Regions from separate parts of the Homo sapiens genome. Here regions 1, 3, 4 and 5 are each linked to region 2. Evidence: promoter capture Hi-C in 16 types of primary human blood cells and fetal thymus (Javierre and others, 2016). All regions are on one chromosome and are shown on one strand. Each heading gives the region's core, a stretch centred on a gene start or on the middle of the fragment in contact. The rest is flanking DNA. Distances are from core to core; before and after follow the strand shown.

What was found. Contacts are between HindIII fragments. The CHiCAGO score rates a contact against its expected background, and 5 or more counts as called.
Region 1: a fragment that was not itself captured here is called in contact with the fragment with the promoter of COPS6 in region 2 in 1 of 17 cell types (erythroblasts); the score reaches 6.2 in erythroblasts.
Region 3: a fragment that was not itself captured here is called in contact with the fragment with the promoter of COPS6 in region 2 in 1 of 17 cell types (non-activated CD4 T cells); the score reaches 5.6 in non-activated CD4 T cells.
Region 4: the fragment with the promoter of PDAP1 here is called in contact with the fragment with the promoter of COPS6 in region 2 in 2 of 17 cell types (M0 macrophages and erythroblasts); the score reaches 6.1 in M0 macrophages.
Region 5: a contact is called between the fragment with the promoter of SRRT here and the fragment with the promoter of COPS6 in region 2, in 1 of 17 cell types (naive CD8 T cells). The highest score is 5.5, in naive CD8 T cells.

The regions. Positions count from the first base shown.
Region 1 is chr7:99,551,876-99,554,575 of GRCh38, forward strand. FAM200A (family with sequence similarity 200 member A) reads right to left here and starts at 239. Exons shown (of 2, transcript NM_145111.4): 1 at 1-239. LOC105375422 (a long non-coding RNA gene) reads left to right here and starts at 290. Exons shown (of 3, transcript XR_927801.4): 1 at 290-609; 2 at 1,650-1,756. The HindIII fragment of the contact is 4,575 bases long and covers 1-2,700 here.
Region 2 is chr7:100,087,582-100,090,281 of GRCh38, forward strand. COPS6 (COP9 signalosome subunit 6) reads left to right here and starts at 1,388. Exons shown (of 10, transcript NM_006833.5): 1 at 1,388-1,485; 2 at 1,709-1,834; 3 at 2,034-2,165. The coding sequence starts at 1,410. RefSeq lists enhancers at 1-201, 1,588-2,279, 1,786-2,700 and a silencer at 1,248-1,437. The HindIII fragment of the contact is 8,452 bases long and covers 1-2,700 here.
Region 3 is chr7:99,458,083-99,460,782 of GRCh38, forward strand. It overlaps ATP5MF-PTCD1 (ATP5MF-PTCD1 readthrough), which reads right to left. Exons shown (of 9, transcript NM_001198879.2): 2 at 2,004-2,111. It overlaps ATP5MF (ATP synthase membrane subunit f), which reads right to left. Exons shown (of 4, transcript NM_004889.5): 2 at 2,004-2,111; 3 at 1,065-1,181; 4 at 113-273. The coding sequence ends at 245. Among named protein-coding and RNA genes, the nearest start is that of ATP5MF, 6.7 kb to the right of the region's middle. The HindIII fragment of the contact is 4,032 bases long and covers 1-2,700 here.
Region 4 is chr7:99,407,230-99,409,929 of GRCh38, forward strand. PDAP1 (PDGFA associated protein 1) reads right to left here and starts at 1,368. Exons shown (of 6, transcript NM_014891.7): 1 at 1,307-1,368. The coding sequence starts at 1,319. BUD31 (BUD31 spliceosome associated protein) reads left to right here and starts at 1,740. Exons shown (of 6, transcript NM_003910.4): 1 at 1,740-2,016. MIR12119 (microRNA 12119) reads left to right here and starts at 1,943; the gene lies at 1,943-2,035. RefSeq lists a silencer at 1,137-1,196 and an enhancer at 1,407-1,796. The HindIII fragment of the contact is 3,476 bases long and covers 6-2,700 here.
Region 5 is chr7:100,873,685-100,876,384 of GRCh38, forward strand. SRRT (serrate, RNA effector molecule) reads left to right here and starts at 1,419. Exons shown (of 20, transcript NM_015908.6): 1 at 1,419-1,644; 2 at 1,889-2,028. The coding sequence starts at 1,907. RefSeq lists enhancers at 304-968, 969-1,634, 1,211-1,260, 1,471-1,530 and a silencer at 1,671-1,900. The HindIII fragment of the contact is 10,507 bases long and covers 1-2,700 here.

The sequences.
Region 1 (2,700 bases), core at 151-2,650, 540 kb before region 2:
TGGGGGACAGCGCTTGCCACCGCCGAGGCTGGCGCGAGGAACGGGGGCACGGACCCGCTTCCACTCCGTCCCGGGCGGTCGTGGCGAGGGGATTGCAGGACACAGCCATGCACGTCCAACTCTGTCCCCGCCCGGAGAAGTCTGGGATGCTGGGATAGAAGGGGTTGTGACTTTGGGGACCAGGAGCACTAGACTCACATCCAAGCCCCCTGGCCTTCAGAGCCCAGGGAAAGCGTCACAAAAGCCGGAAGTGCGTCACACCCGCCTTCCGGAGCTGCGCTCCGCTTCGGGGTCCTCTCTAGGATCGCGGGAGGACTTTGCATCCCTGTGTAGGGCTCTAATCTCGGGTTTGGGGATCTTGCTCCTCAGCTTGTCCGCTCCGAGGAGGTGCACAGGGCGGGGAAAAAGGGATGAATTTCCCTTTATACCGCCCTGCTCAGATATTTATATGTTCCTTCTATTTTTCTTGATGACAATAATTGTAATAGTTACAATAAAAATAGTGATTGTCTGTGGCAGAGGAGCTGAATGAAACGAGGGTGGAGACAGGAAGATCAAGAATAAATGGTTTCACAAATCGAAGGGATTGTCTCTTGAGACGCTGATTATGTACGTATTGCCAGTTGAATGGGCAGTATTTTCAAATACTTGATCTATAGGCAACAGACGTTCTTTCCAACACTAGATAGTTATAAAATTCTGAGTTTGCCTTATGTTTCCAGGGAGTTTTCAGATTAGCAACGGTGAAATAAGTTGAATTTGAGGCGTTTTTGCTGTCCAAGTGTTATTGTAATAATTAGGGCTTCTATGATTAGATCAAGAATAACTTCACCTTTTATAAAACAGTAACTGAGACCTTGAATGGCTGGGGCATGACTCTAAAAGTTCTGGGCAAGTCTGTGGTACAGCCCAATAAGATAAAAGCCTACAAAAGGAACGGCTACCTGATACAGAGCCTATGATTACGTGGTATCCCGAATTACCTTCTAGACCCTCACTAATGCTCCATTCCTTAGGGGGTTTGATCTTGCTATGGTTGCCATTTTCTACCTACCCACGAGTCTTCTCAATAATCCACTTAAGTGCATCTTTGCTCCATATATATATATACACACATATATATACACACACATATATATACACATATATATACATGTATATATATATACACACACATATATATATATACACACACATATATATATATATATATATATATATATATTTTTTTTTTTTTTTTTTTCCTCCTAGGGCACCGTCAAATCCAATCTTTGCTCCTTTATCACTGGCTGGCTTTCTAACCTACAGTCCTCCGTGATGACATCATAGTCTCAACTTATTCCTCCAGATACATCCTCATATTTCCTTCCAGGGTTCCAAGTCATCGCTAAGAGTCATTACATTGCTACACACTGTATTTTTCTTCTTTGTCTAAAGTCTCTCCTCCCCACCCGTCCCCATTCCTACACTGAAGTGCCTAAAGGGTCCAGGAAGGCAGATTACTGAATGCAGTTGACTGGGTATATGATTTTGTATTTATGTTGTGTGTGTGGCAGGAATTGTAGGCATCTCTATAACGACTCCTTTCTTTGCCTACGGACCTACTGGCACAAGAAACTCAAAGTGGCCTGGTGGTATTCTGTTTTCAGTTCAGTGGCACGATTTAATGTTTCCTAGAGGAAATGTTCTTCCTGGAAATGAGGATCATAACCCAGCTGGCTCCAGATTTCGGAGCGAGGAGGCACAAATTCTACAGGTGAGTGGCTGGGTGTGATAGTAATAGAGGCTACTCCTGTATGCACATAGTCCTACTGGAGACACAATACTATATATCCATTTTGGCCCAATGCATTTCAGCGCATATACCATATTCTGAAGAACTGCTCCCAACTTTGCAAGGCATTACATCTTAATCGCAATTTAGCCCAGTCTTCAACAGGCCATTCCAAAACCCTATCTGGCTAGCTGCTTCTGGATGATGAGTATGCACCATGAATTTTGTAGCTTCGAGTTCACTGTCACACCTCCTTGGCTATCGGTGGGTTCCTTAGTTTCAGGTATGTCAATGGATAAGGCACCCTGTAAGCTCTCAGATGGTGGTGCTGCTGGAGGCAAAGTAGTTGGGGAAGACAAGCTCATTTAGAGCATATATCAATTCTGGTAAGAACAAATTGATGCCCATTCCAAGGTAAAAGGGATCTGATGCACTCAACCTGGTGGTAGCTGGTATCTCTAAGACTCAGTGTTGGTCTCTAATGCTGGCAGGCTGGACACTCCACCATGGTGAGAGTTACATCAGCCTTGGTAAGAGGTAGACCATATTGGCCGGGCACGGTGGCTCACACCTGTAATGTCAGCACTTTGGGAGGCTGAGGTGGGTGGATCACAAGTTCAGGAGTTCGAGACCAGCCTGAGCAACATGGTGAAACACCGTCTCAACTAAAAATACAGAAATTACCTGGGTACGGTGGTGTGTGCCTGTAGTCCCAGCTACTCGGGAGGCTGAGGCAGGAGAATTGCTTGAACCTGGGAGGTGGAGGCTGCAGTGAGCTGAGATCACACCACTGCACTCCAGCCTGGGCAACAGGGCGAGACTCCGTCTCAAAAAAAAAAAAAAAAAAAAAAGAAAAATAAGAGGTAGCCCATATTGTTGGGACCACGCACAGCCTCTATCCCTGCTACCATGGTCTCTGTTCATAA
Region 2 (2,700 bases), core at 138-2,637:
TTTCTTTCTTTCTTTCTTTTTTTTTTTTTTTTGAGATGGAGTCTCACTTTGTCTTGCCCGGGCTGGAGTGCAGTGGCGCGATCGCAGCTCACTGCAGCTTCCACCTCCCGGGTTCAAGCAATTCTCCTGCCTCAGGCTCCTGAGTAGCTGGGATTACAGGCGCCTGCCACCACGCCTGGCTAATTTTTGTATTTTTAGTAGAGATGGGGTTTCACCATGTTGGCTAGGCTCGTCTCAAACTGCTGACCTCAAGTGATTGTCTGGCCTCGGTCTCCCAAAATGCTGGTATTACAGGTGTGAGCCACCATGCCTGGCCTTGTGGGGTTATTTTCGAAAGTCCTTGAGATAATTCCTATCTCAGACATGCAAGCATGAGACCTTCTCCTTGGTGTTCTCATGGCTCCAATTTGTTTGGACCTGACAATGTGATTTTGTCCTGGTATCTGCAACTTTCACAAGATGGAGCAACTAACTCAACACCAGATTCCACCCCTAATTATTCCTTCATTCACTCAAAAAGTATCTAGGCTCCAATGTGTCAGGCACCGTGTTGGTCACAGGGGATACCATGATGAACAAGAGAAGGAACCACAGGCTTTTGAATGGGAAACTAAAGCATGTGAAAAACACACGGAGAGCTGGGTGCGGTGGCTCATGCCTGTAATCCCAGTGCTTTGGGAGGCTGAGGATGGAGGATCTCTTCTGCCCGGGAGTTGGAGACCAGCCTGGACAACCTAGTGAGACCCCCGTCTCTATCAAAATAAAAACAAATAATAAAATTAGCTGGGTGCGGTGGGGTGCGCCTGTAGTCCCAGCTACTCGGGAGGCTGAACTGGGAGGATCACTTGAGCCCAGGAGTTTGAGGGTGCAGTGAGCTGACATCAGGCCACTGCACTCCAGCCTGGGCGACAGAGCGAGACCCTGTCTCAAACAAAACAAAACAAACCACCACCACCACCAGACATGAGGGCCAGTGCAGCTGAAGCCTGAAGATCAAGGGCTAGAAGAGGCCAGGCCGGGGCCAGATCAGGCAGGGCCTTGCAGGTTGTGGTTAGTTGTTTGGATTTTATTGTGAGGGAAATAACACGACATGTCATTCCTTCTGCAACAGCCTTAAGAACTAGGCGTTCTTATCCCAATTTCACAGACGAGGACGATCAAGTCGTTAATTTGTCAAAGGTCACCCGCAGGCGACAGGCGGGGACAGGGTCTGGGAAAACCCGCTAGGCACCGAGGCCCAGAGGGCGTCGGGCGTCCCCGCACCGAGTGCCGCCCGCCGCGACCCGGGAACTGCCTGCTCCCCGGACGCCAGGCCCGCCGCACGCCGCGGGGACACCGAACATGCGCCGCTCGCCTTACGGAAGCCGGGAAGGAAGGGGGCGGGGCCGAGGCTGGCGGGCGCGGGGAAAATGGCGGCGGCGGCGGCGGCGGCTGCAGCTACGAACGGGACCGGAGGAAGCAGCGGGATGGAGGTGGATGCAGCAGGTAACGGGCCGTGCGGGGGTGGCTTCCGGAGACCTCCTTCAGGGGTTCGTTGAGGCCTCCCTGTGCTCCCGGGAGAAGGGAGGAGGGCGGAGCAGCAACATCTTTCCCTGGGATAAGTTACGGGAGGAAAGTGTGGCCCGGGCTCCGCCGTCCCCCACTGCCATCTCCAGGGAAGAACGTGGGGCCCGGACTCTCACCCTCTCTCCTTTCCCTCCACCCTTAGTAGTCCCCAGCGTGATGGCCTGCGGAGTGACTGGGAGTGTTTCCGTCGCTCTCCATCCCCTTGTCATTCTCAACATCTCAGACCACTGGATCCGCATGCGCTCCCAGGAGGGGCGGCCTGTGCAGGGTGAGTGTTGGGCATAGACTCCAGTCTCTTCTCCTTGCTCACCTCCCCCAGGCAGTGGTCTTTTCCCCTTCCTCTACTGGAGCCAATTCCCCCTCCCCCAAATCATCGTTTCCCCAATACATGGTTCCCACTGATCTCAGACCCTCAGGTCATAGAAGTTTCTTTACCCTCACCTTTTCCATGTCATTCTCTTTCCCAGTGATTGGGGCTCTGATTGGCAAGCAGGAGGGCCGAAATATCGAGGTGATGAACTCCTTTGAGCTGCTGTCCCACACCGTGGAAGAGAAGATTATCATTGACAAGGAATATTATTACACCAAGGAGGAGCAGTGTGAGAGTGGAATAGATGTGGGGAAGAGGAGTGGGAGTTAAAAAAAAAATGTACAGGGTGGGGAAGATGGAGAGGGTTGGAAAGAAACAGGAGAGGAGACCAAGAACAGGGGAGAAAAAGTGAAGAGTAGCTGGAGAGATCTCAGAAAAAGAAAACGTTCAGAGTTCTTTCTCAAAAGAAAGCAAAGGATGAGAGGAGACAGGATAGAAGGGAGTAGTTATTCTAAACTGAGCCAGGATTTGAGGAGGGAGGAGAGAAGCTGGTGAAAATACACCAGGAGCTTCACATTGAGGAAGGATGGTTTAAAGAATTACTATGTCAGGCCGGGCTCAGTGACTCATGCCTCTAATCCCAGCACTTTGGGAGGCCGAGGTGGGTGGATCATGAGGTCAGGAGTTCAAGACCAGCCTGGCAAACATAGTGAAACCCCACCTCTACTAAAAATACAAAAATTAGTCTGGCATGGTGGTGCGTGCCTGTAGTCCCAGCTACGCGGGATGCTGAGGCAGGAGAATTGCTTGAACCTGGGAGGCGG
Region 3 (2,700 bases), core at 44-2,543, 630 kb before region 2:
AGGCCTTCACCGGTCAACGGCCTGGAAAGACGACCTCCCCCCACCTTGTGCCACAGGAGCCCCTGGAACATGGGATAATGGCTACGGCAGACAGGCAGGCAATCAGCACACGTACCAGTCATGTTTTATTTGGAGGTTAATTCCTATTAGGATATGAAAGGATTCAGCAACGATTGAGATTGTGTTCCTCACGGAGGGGCTCGGGCCAAGGTCGTGGGGTGGGGGGGTGCAGAGTGTGTCCTCTTCAGTGGTATTTGCGGAGCCGCTCGTGCTCTGAAGTCAGGAAGGCAAGATGGTAAGTATCTTAAAAGGTTACAGTGAAGGCACAGCATGGCAGGAAGCAGGCTGAGATCACACAAAGCCTTCCTGAGAATTCCCTTCAGAGATGACCCATGACCCGCCTGCCGGTGTCTCTGCAGAATCAGCAGACCCGGGGGGCACAAAGACACCTCAGGAGCCAACCTGCCACCTGGCCAACCACTTTCTTTCCAGAAGGAACAGAGGGAACACACGCTCAGACAAACAGCCCCAGAGAACCCGTCCTTCAGAGGCAGGACCGCCCTGGTGCCACAGAATGGGAGTGAGGTGGGGGTAGGGGGTGTACACTACACTGTCAGAAACAGCCTAGTCAGAGGCTGCCACCGACACCTCCCGCCAATCTCCCACCAGACAAGCTCCTCTCAAGCCTCAGAGCCGGAACAGCCATGCTTTTCTGGGGTACCAGATTATCCCACTCAACTCATTTCTCTTTCTGCATTGGCTACTAGGAAAATCGAGCCAAATTTTCACAGTGTGCTGTATTTTAAAGAATGCTTCTAAGTACTCTCTTTACCCTGGCTTCATCTTGATTTTCCTGTGTTCTCTTTGTCACAATTTTCTCATTTCAAACAATATCCCACATACTGTACTCTGATAGGTCCCTCCAATTCTTTTAGGTGGAAACATAAGGAACTTTAACTAAAGGTCCCTCAGCCTCAGAAGAAGGTGGGCTGCTGTATCTAATGAAATCAGTCACCACCACCCTCTCATGGGAACTAAAGGCAAGACGCCGCAGAGGCACTCACTGAGATGCTTGTAGGAAAAGGAGTAGCTAAAGAGCACGTAGCATGCCAGCACCATGGTAATCCCCGAGATGCTCCCCTTCTTCACATTGATGTACTTGTTGTAGTACCGGTAGTAACCTGCAAACGCAAGAGGCGCTCACTGCCCTGCTGGGCTTCACATTTGAGTGAAGTTGAGCACACAGTTGAGTCTGGCTGACATTCAGGGACCTAGTCCTGCTCTGGCTGTTTAAGCCCCTCGCCCTGCATTCACTGGCTGATAAAGATGACAAGCACAAATGCCAGTAAGGTCTCTCATCCCCATAGCCTGAACTATAAGCACATACCAGCTCCTGAACTAGGCCTACCTGGATTCCACCTCTCCCCTTTGGCTGTGAGCTTATAGCCTCCTGAGTAGCTGGGACTACAGGCATGCACCACCACAGCCAGCTAATTTTTCTTGTGTGGTTTTTTTTATAGAGATGGGGTCTCTCCATATTGCCTAGGCTGGTCTAAACTCGGCTCAAGCAATCCTCCAGCCTTGGCCTCCCGAAGTGCCGGGATTACAGGCATAAGCCACCACACCAGGCCAAGATAGGCCATTTCAAATATTTGTCCTGAAGTTCTGGCAGGGAGGAGAGCATCATATTATAGACTAATGCCCACTACGGTTCCAATTCATTTTCCTCTTAAAGAAGTCTTAGGATTTCTCTAAGACAGAGGCAGACATACTGATTCCAAGCAACAGGAAACATGTTCTTGGCTGTAATATCTCAGAGCCAGCCTTTGAAAGGGCCAATCAACCACAGAAGTCCAAGGCCTAGCATCCCTCCCTGTCATCCTCTACATAACTTACTGCTTTCAGACAACAAGGCCTTCATTGCCCAAATTAATTCATGGCAAAAAAGAGATCTGAAGACCCAGAGATTTGCTTTCATTTACAGACATCCACAAGGCTCTGACCTCTTTGAAACGCTCCGAAAATGCCACTAGGACTGAAGTCCCGCATCAAGATCCAGCTTGGCAGCTCCCCCAGTTTGACCTCCAGAAGTTTCTTGTCCTTCACTGGTACTGAAACGGAAGAGTGAGAAAAAATACCCACTGAATAATCTCCCAGTAACACATATGGCATCCTTTCCTGCCACTGCTTCAACTATGCAATAAAGGTGCATAATGCAATTACACAGAGGCTGCACATACACAATATTATGAAGAAATATGTCACATCAAGCCCACTATTTTAAGACTGAGTCTATACAATAGCAGAACTGCTGCAGGGACAGCTTTATTAACCAACAGGACGTCTGAGTAACAGCTTGCTGGGAGTAACTCCAGAAAAGGGTCTCGAAAAAAGCAGTAACGTGGCGGACAGGAAAGATTACTGCAAAGCTAACATTTACTTGACATTATTAGCTTATTTAATCTTCACAACAAGCACTTCATGTCTTTACCTTAAAGGAGGGGAGGGGGGATAGACTCAGAGAGGTTGGGCCACGTGACCAAAGTCACACACACAACGTGGGGTCAGGACTGGCCCTCCTATGTCCCTGAAGCCAATATGAGGGTGCCCTGTCCAACCCTGGGGATGTGTCGCTGGAGAACGTACAAGAGGGGATGTGGAAGGAGAGCGGTGTGACGGTGCCAAGTGTCTCACTCAGAC
Region 4 (2,700 bases), core at 118-2,617, 680 kb before region 2:
CAAAAAGCTTTTCACAAGCCCAAAGACCATTTAGCTATGAATTCATATTTAAGGTTTTATCGTTGTAACCTCCAACCTTTACCCAAAGTATCCATTAAGTAAAACTTCGGAGGGAGGATGGCTCATTCAGCAACCTCCTTTTACAGATGAAGGGACTGGGGAACAATAGCAGAGAGACTTTTCCAGCCACAGAATAAATCAGTAGAGAGCTAGGTTTAAACACATTTAGCTCTGTAATGCCCAATTATCTCTGGAGTCAGGAAGCGATTTAGGTTTGAAAACGCTACAGGCAGATGTTTCTGTGGGTTGAGTGCATTAACCAATATAACACATGAGCTACCAACACAAATATATTTGTTCTGTGCCAGGAGGTGGCCAGGCACTTTATGAGCGCTATAATTTTACCACCCCGGCCCCAATTCAACAAGCTAAGGATTAGCCCAGTGTTTCAGATGAGGAAGAGGTTAACTTGTTCAGGGCCACAGAATTAGACGTGACATAGCTGGGATTCAAACTGGGGACTATCGATTCTAAAGGGGGAAACAGGATAGAGAACGGGCTAGAAGATAGAGGACGGGCTACAATGGACTGGGCAGTCATGAACCTACTTACAAGATCAAGAGCTGGCAAAGCCTTAAAAATAAGAATAGTTACTGCTTCACTGGGCACTTTTAACGACTGCCTGGCACTGTACTGCGCACTCCACGTGGATTACCTAGTTGAAGCCTCCCAACAGTACTAAGAGGTAGGTACAATCGTTATTCCCATTGGCAAATGAGAAAACGGAGACACAGGAGGTGGAGCGACTGGCTCAAAGGAACACACCGAGCCGCTACCGAACGGGGGAGTCGAAACCAGGTCTGGAAGGCTCATGGGCATCTCCTTAAGTCCTCCTAGGCAGGCCTGGCTGAACCGAAGCCAGAAAAAGCCCACGTTTTACGCGAGAGGCAGGCGGGCCCGGCACAAGCGCGGGACGCGGTGACTCAGTTCCTAGCCAGCCAAAGAGTGGGATAAATTCCAGAACCCCTAGACCCGGAGAAGCGCATCCTAGATCCGGCTTTCTAGGCCGGCGAGGACCCAGAGCTTCCGAAACTCCTCAGACCACTGACGGAGTGACTCTGGGACACCACAGTCCTCAGTTTCCCCATCGGGACAATTGGGCGTCGAGGCCCAGGCCTGGCTCTCAGCCGGTGCGGACAGCCTCCCTCTGCGCTGCTCTCAGAGACGCGCACGGGCTGAGGGGACAGCGGAAGCCGGACCTGGGCCGCCCCTCCAGGCCTGCGGGCCACCGGCGCCCGCCCCTCACCTCCTTTAGGCATTGCGGCTCCGGCGGCTGCGGCGGCGGCGGCGGCGCCTCGAACTGACACCGGAACCGGAAATAGCTTGGGCTCGACTTCTTCCTCCTGGGCCAGCCGCCGCCGCCGCTTCAGTGGCCGCAGTGGCCGCAAGGACCCGGACCTCAGGGAGGCCTCCGCACGAAGTCGGACCGTCCTGCGCGCCGCCTAAGTCCAGGCTTGCCCGTCTGCTGCCAGGCAACAACGCCCCTAGTCTCTCCGTTCGGGAAGACGCGTGGCCCTGCCTGCCACCCACCGGAAGTGAGGGCAAATGGCAACAGCGGCTCTGGAATTCTATACAGGCATTGCTGAGGACACCTAAGATGACGCAATCTCCGCGCGGGTAGGGCGGGGCTCCGCAAGGACCTCATGCCTTAGAGATCGCCTGAAGAGCGGAAGCCTTCTGTCGAGAAGCAGCTACCCAAGCTCCAGGAGCTTCCGGTATGTGTTTTCCCTCTGTTCTCGATTACCTTGGCAACGGCTGAGGCGGGAGACCGGTGGTCTGCACCGTCCTGGAGGGAGATATGAGTGGCTGGACTCTCAGCCAGCCACTGGGATGTGTTCGGGCTTTGGACCTTGAGGCCGGAGAGAGCTCCCGAGAGGAGGCGGCGCCACGTTCGTTCTTCTGAGGGGACGGTAGATTTGGGGGTTTTCCTCTAGGATTCTCGCGCCGTTTCCTCTGGTAGGAACGTCTTCTGTGTTCTGATTGTTTTTCTAAGCTGGGTTCAGATGCTGTCCTTTTTATGAGTTTTCCCTACAATCCTGCACTATCTTCCTTCGCTCCTCCTCGCCTCCTTCCCCTAGCGCCCCAATCTCTCTTACACCTCCCGGCACATCTTTCTTCTCGATCTGATTACCTCCTACGTCCTCTTTCTCCTCGATCTGGTTACCGCCTACCATTTTCACCTCCGAGAGGCCTCTTCTGACTTCCAGGCTGGATCAGGGCCCTCGAATTTCCCTGGGTCGTAGAAAAGCGATCATTCTCTTGTCACAGACTATGCGCCTTGGGGCCGAGACCAGAATTCACCTATTTTTAGCTTCAGCGTAGGGGAGACTAGTGCGAAGACCACTGATTTGGGAGTCAGGAGCCCTCCAGAGTCAGGTTTTGCAAATTCTCAGCTGTGTGACCCTGATTCTACCTTATAGAGTTTGATTCCTCCTCTATATGGTTGTTTTAGAGAGTTCATGAGAGGAGGCTCTGTGGGCGGGGGGGGGGTGGGTCTTTGTAAAGTGTCAGTACAGAAGGGAGTGACTGAATGAATTTGAGAGAGATGAATCTGTTATGCTGAAAGGTAAATACTTAACCTGGGTTCTCTCTGGCAGCAAGGAAATGCTGTGTGGTTTGAAAAACGCTTTGCTATTTAGA
Region 5 (2,700 bases), core at 169-2,668, 790 kb after region 2:
TCTGGCTAATTTTGTATTTTTAGTAGAGACGGGGTTTCACCACCTTGGTCAGGGTGGTCTTGAACTCCTGACCTCAAGTGATCTGCCCGCTTCACCCAACCAAAGTGCTGGGATTACAGGCGTGAGCCACCGCCCTTGGCCACTGTCTGCATTTTTACATGTGAGGATGTCAGAGCTGAGAGGTGACTCCCCCAGATTGCATGGTTCTTAAATGGTGGAACCTGGGTCTTTTTGACTCAGGTCCAGTTTTTTTTGACAACTCTTGTAATCCGTCACTACCCTCCTCTCAGTGCTGGGAGCAAGCACGCCTCAGGGAGGAGGCAAGATTTCCTCTATGTATCTATTTTGAGACAGGGCCTCACTCTGTTCCCCAGGCTAGAGTGCAGTGGTGCAATCAAGGCTCACTGCAGCCCTGAACTCCTGGGCTCAAACAGTCCTCCTGGCTTAGCCTCCCCAGTAGCTAGGACCACAGGGGCATCCCACCAAGCCCAGTTATTATTTTTTTGTGTGTAGATGGGATCTTGCTATGTTGCCCAGGCTAGTCCTGAACTCTTGGGCTTAAGTCCTCCCTCCTCGACCTTCCCAAGTGCTGGGATCACAGGTGTGAGCCAATGTGCCTGGCCCTAAATATTCTGTAAAGGGGCCTTGCTATGTTGCCCAGGCAGGTCTCCAACTCCTGGGCTCAAGTGATTCTCCCACGTCGGCCTCCCAAAGCGCTGGGATTGCAGGCGTGAGCCATCTCAGCTGGTCTTCCTATTAAGTCTCACACTCAATTCACTGAGAGGGGCCTTGGTGTTACTCCCGGGGGTGGTAATCCATTGAATCTGGGCGGTCCATACTCTGTTTAGGGCGTTAACTTACAGCCTATTTCATCCAAATACTGAGCGGGGTTAAGACTGAGATCTGCCAATTTTACTTAAAGACGGGGCGTCTTTGTCGAGGAAAAGCAGGAACGGCGGACTTTGCATTTAGTGCGCACTGTGGCACCCAATTTTGGCTGGATATTTGGAGCAGAAAATGGTGGGATACGATGCTTTAAAATGGTTGCTTCCACCTTCCATCCCCTAAGCGCCCGCGCTTCCCAAGCCCACGCCCTGCCCGAGGAGGGGACGAAATCACCCCCGGTGAGGTCAGGAGGCCCGTGGGGGGAACATGGCTGGATGAGAACCGTCTTAGGACCCCGACACATCTGGGGTCGCGCGATCCTCGACTTCCGCTCTCCCTTCGCGCCCAGAGGGCTTGTTCGCCTCCCGAGGCCGCGCTTGGCCCAGCCGAGGTCCCGTAGTTCCTAACGCTCGAGCCGTTATCGTCTCGAAAAGCCGCGCGAGACTTGCGAGATCCCCGCCCCTTTCCCATCACGCCCTGCTCTCCCCGCCCTTCGCGCTCGGTTTGTTAGTTCCAGTTCCGGCCGCGAGGGTGGAGCTTTGTGCCTCGGAGGCGTGGGTGACGCAGGCGCAGCGCGGGCTGCGCGCGCTACTGCCCATCCCCGGTTGTCCCACTTTTGTTCGCCTCTCTTCGGCCCTCTACTCAAGAGCTCCGTCTCCGTCTCGCCCTCCTCGAAGTCCTCGTCGCGCGCCCGCGACCCAGGTCGCCCTGAAATCTAGCCCGTCCGAGCGCGAGTCCAACGGCCGCGGCCGCACCAAGGTGGGGGAGGGGAGGAGCCTGGGGGGCCCCGCTGGGGCGGGAGAGGAACCGGGGTCCACGGGGGCGGGCGCGGAGAAACTCGGGGCGAGTGGAGGTGTTGGAGCCGCGTTCTCAGGCCTAGGATGGTGGGGGCCGCGGAGGGCTGGCCTTGGCGGGAGGGAAGCGGGCGAGCTGCCCGCGAGGGACGGTCCCTTCCTCCGCTCGTCCTTTTGCACCACTCCTACCGCCTCTCCCCGGTCCCCAGGCCCCCTCAGACCGTGCCATGGGTGACAGTGATGACGAGTACGATCGAAGGCGCAGGGACAAGTTCAGAAGAGAGCGCAGCGACTACGACCGTTCCCGCGAGAGAGATGAAAGACGTCGAGGGGACGATTGGAATGACAGGTGAGCCGTTTTTAACTTCATCTTGTCCCCGTTTCATGCCGTTTCACTCCACCCGCGTCGCTTTTCTTTCTCCCCCTTGTAATTTTTATGAGGGCGAATCCTATGAAATGGCTCATTGGACCGTTTTCTGTGGTTCAGCCTATTTGCTGTTGGCCAAATAACTAGCTGTGGCTTGGTTTTTGAAATTCTCTGCAGATCAGAGCTATAGAGCTAAGAGTTTGAGTATGAAGAAGCACTGTTTATACATGCACGAAAAGCGTGCTTTTTTGCTTTTTTTTGTTTTGTTATTGAGATGGGGTCTTGTTCTGCTGCCCTGGCTGGAGTGCATTGATGCAGTCGTAGCAGCCTCCACCTCCCGGGCTCAACCGAGCCTCCCGCCTCAGCCTCTTGAGAAGCTGGGACTCCAGGGGGAGGCCATCACGCCCGCCTAACTTTTAAAAATTATTATTGTTATTTCGAGACAGAGTCTTGCCCTGTCGCCCAGGCTGGAGTGCAATGGCGCAATCTTGGCTCACTGCAACCTTCGCCTCTGGGGTTCAAGTAATTCTCCTGCCTCAGCCTCCCGAGTAGCTGGGATTACAGGCACCTGCCACCACGCCCGTCTAATTTTTGTATTTTTAGTAGAGACGGGGTTTCACCATGTTGGCTAGGCTGGTTTGGAACTCTCGACTT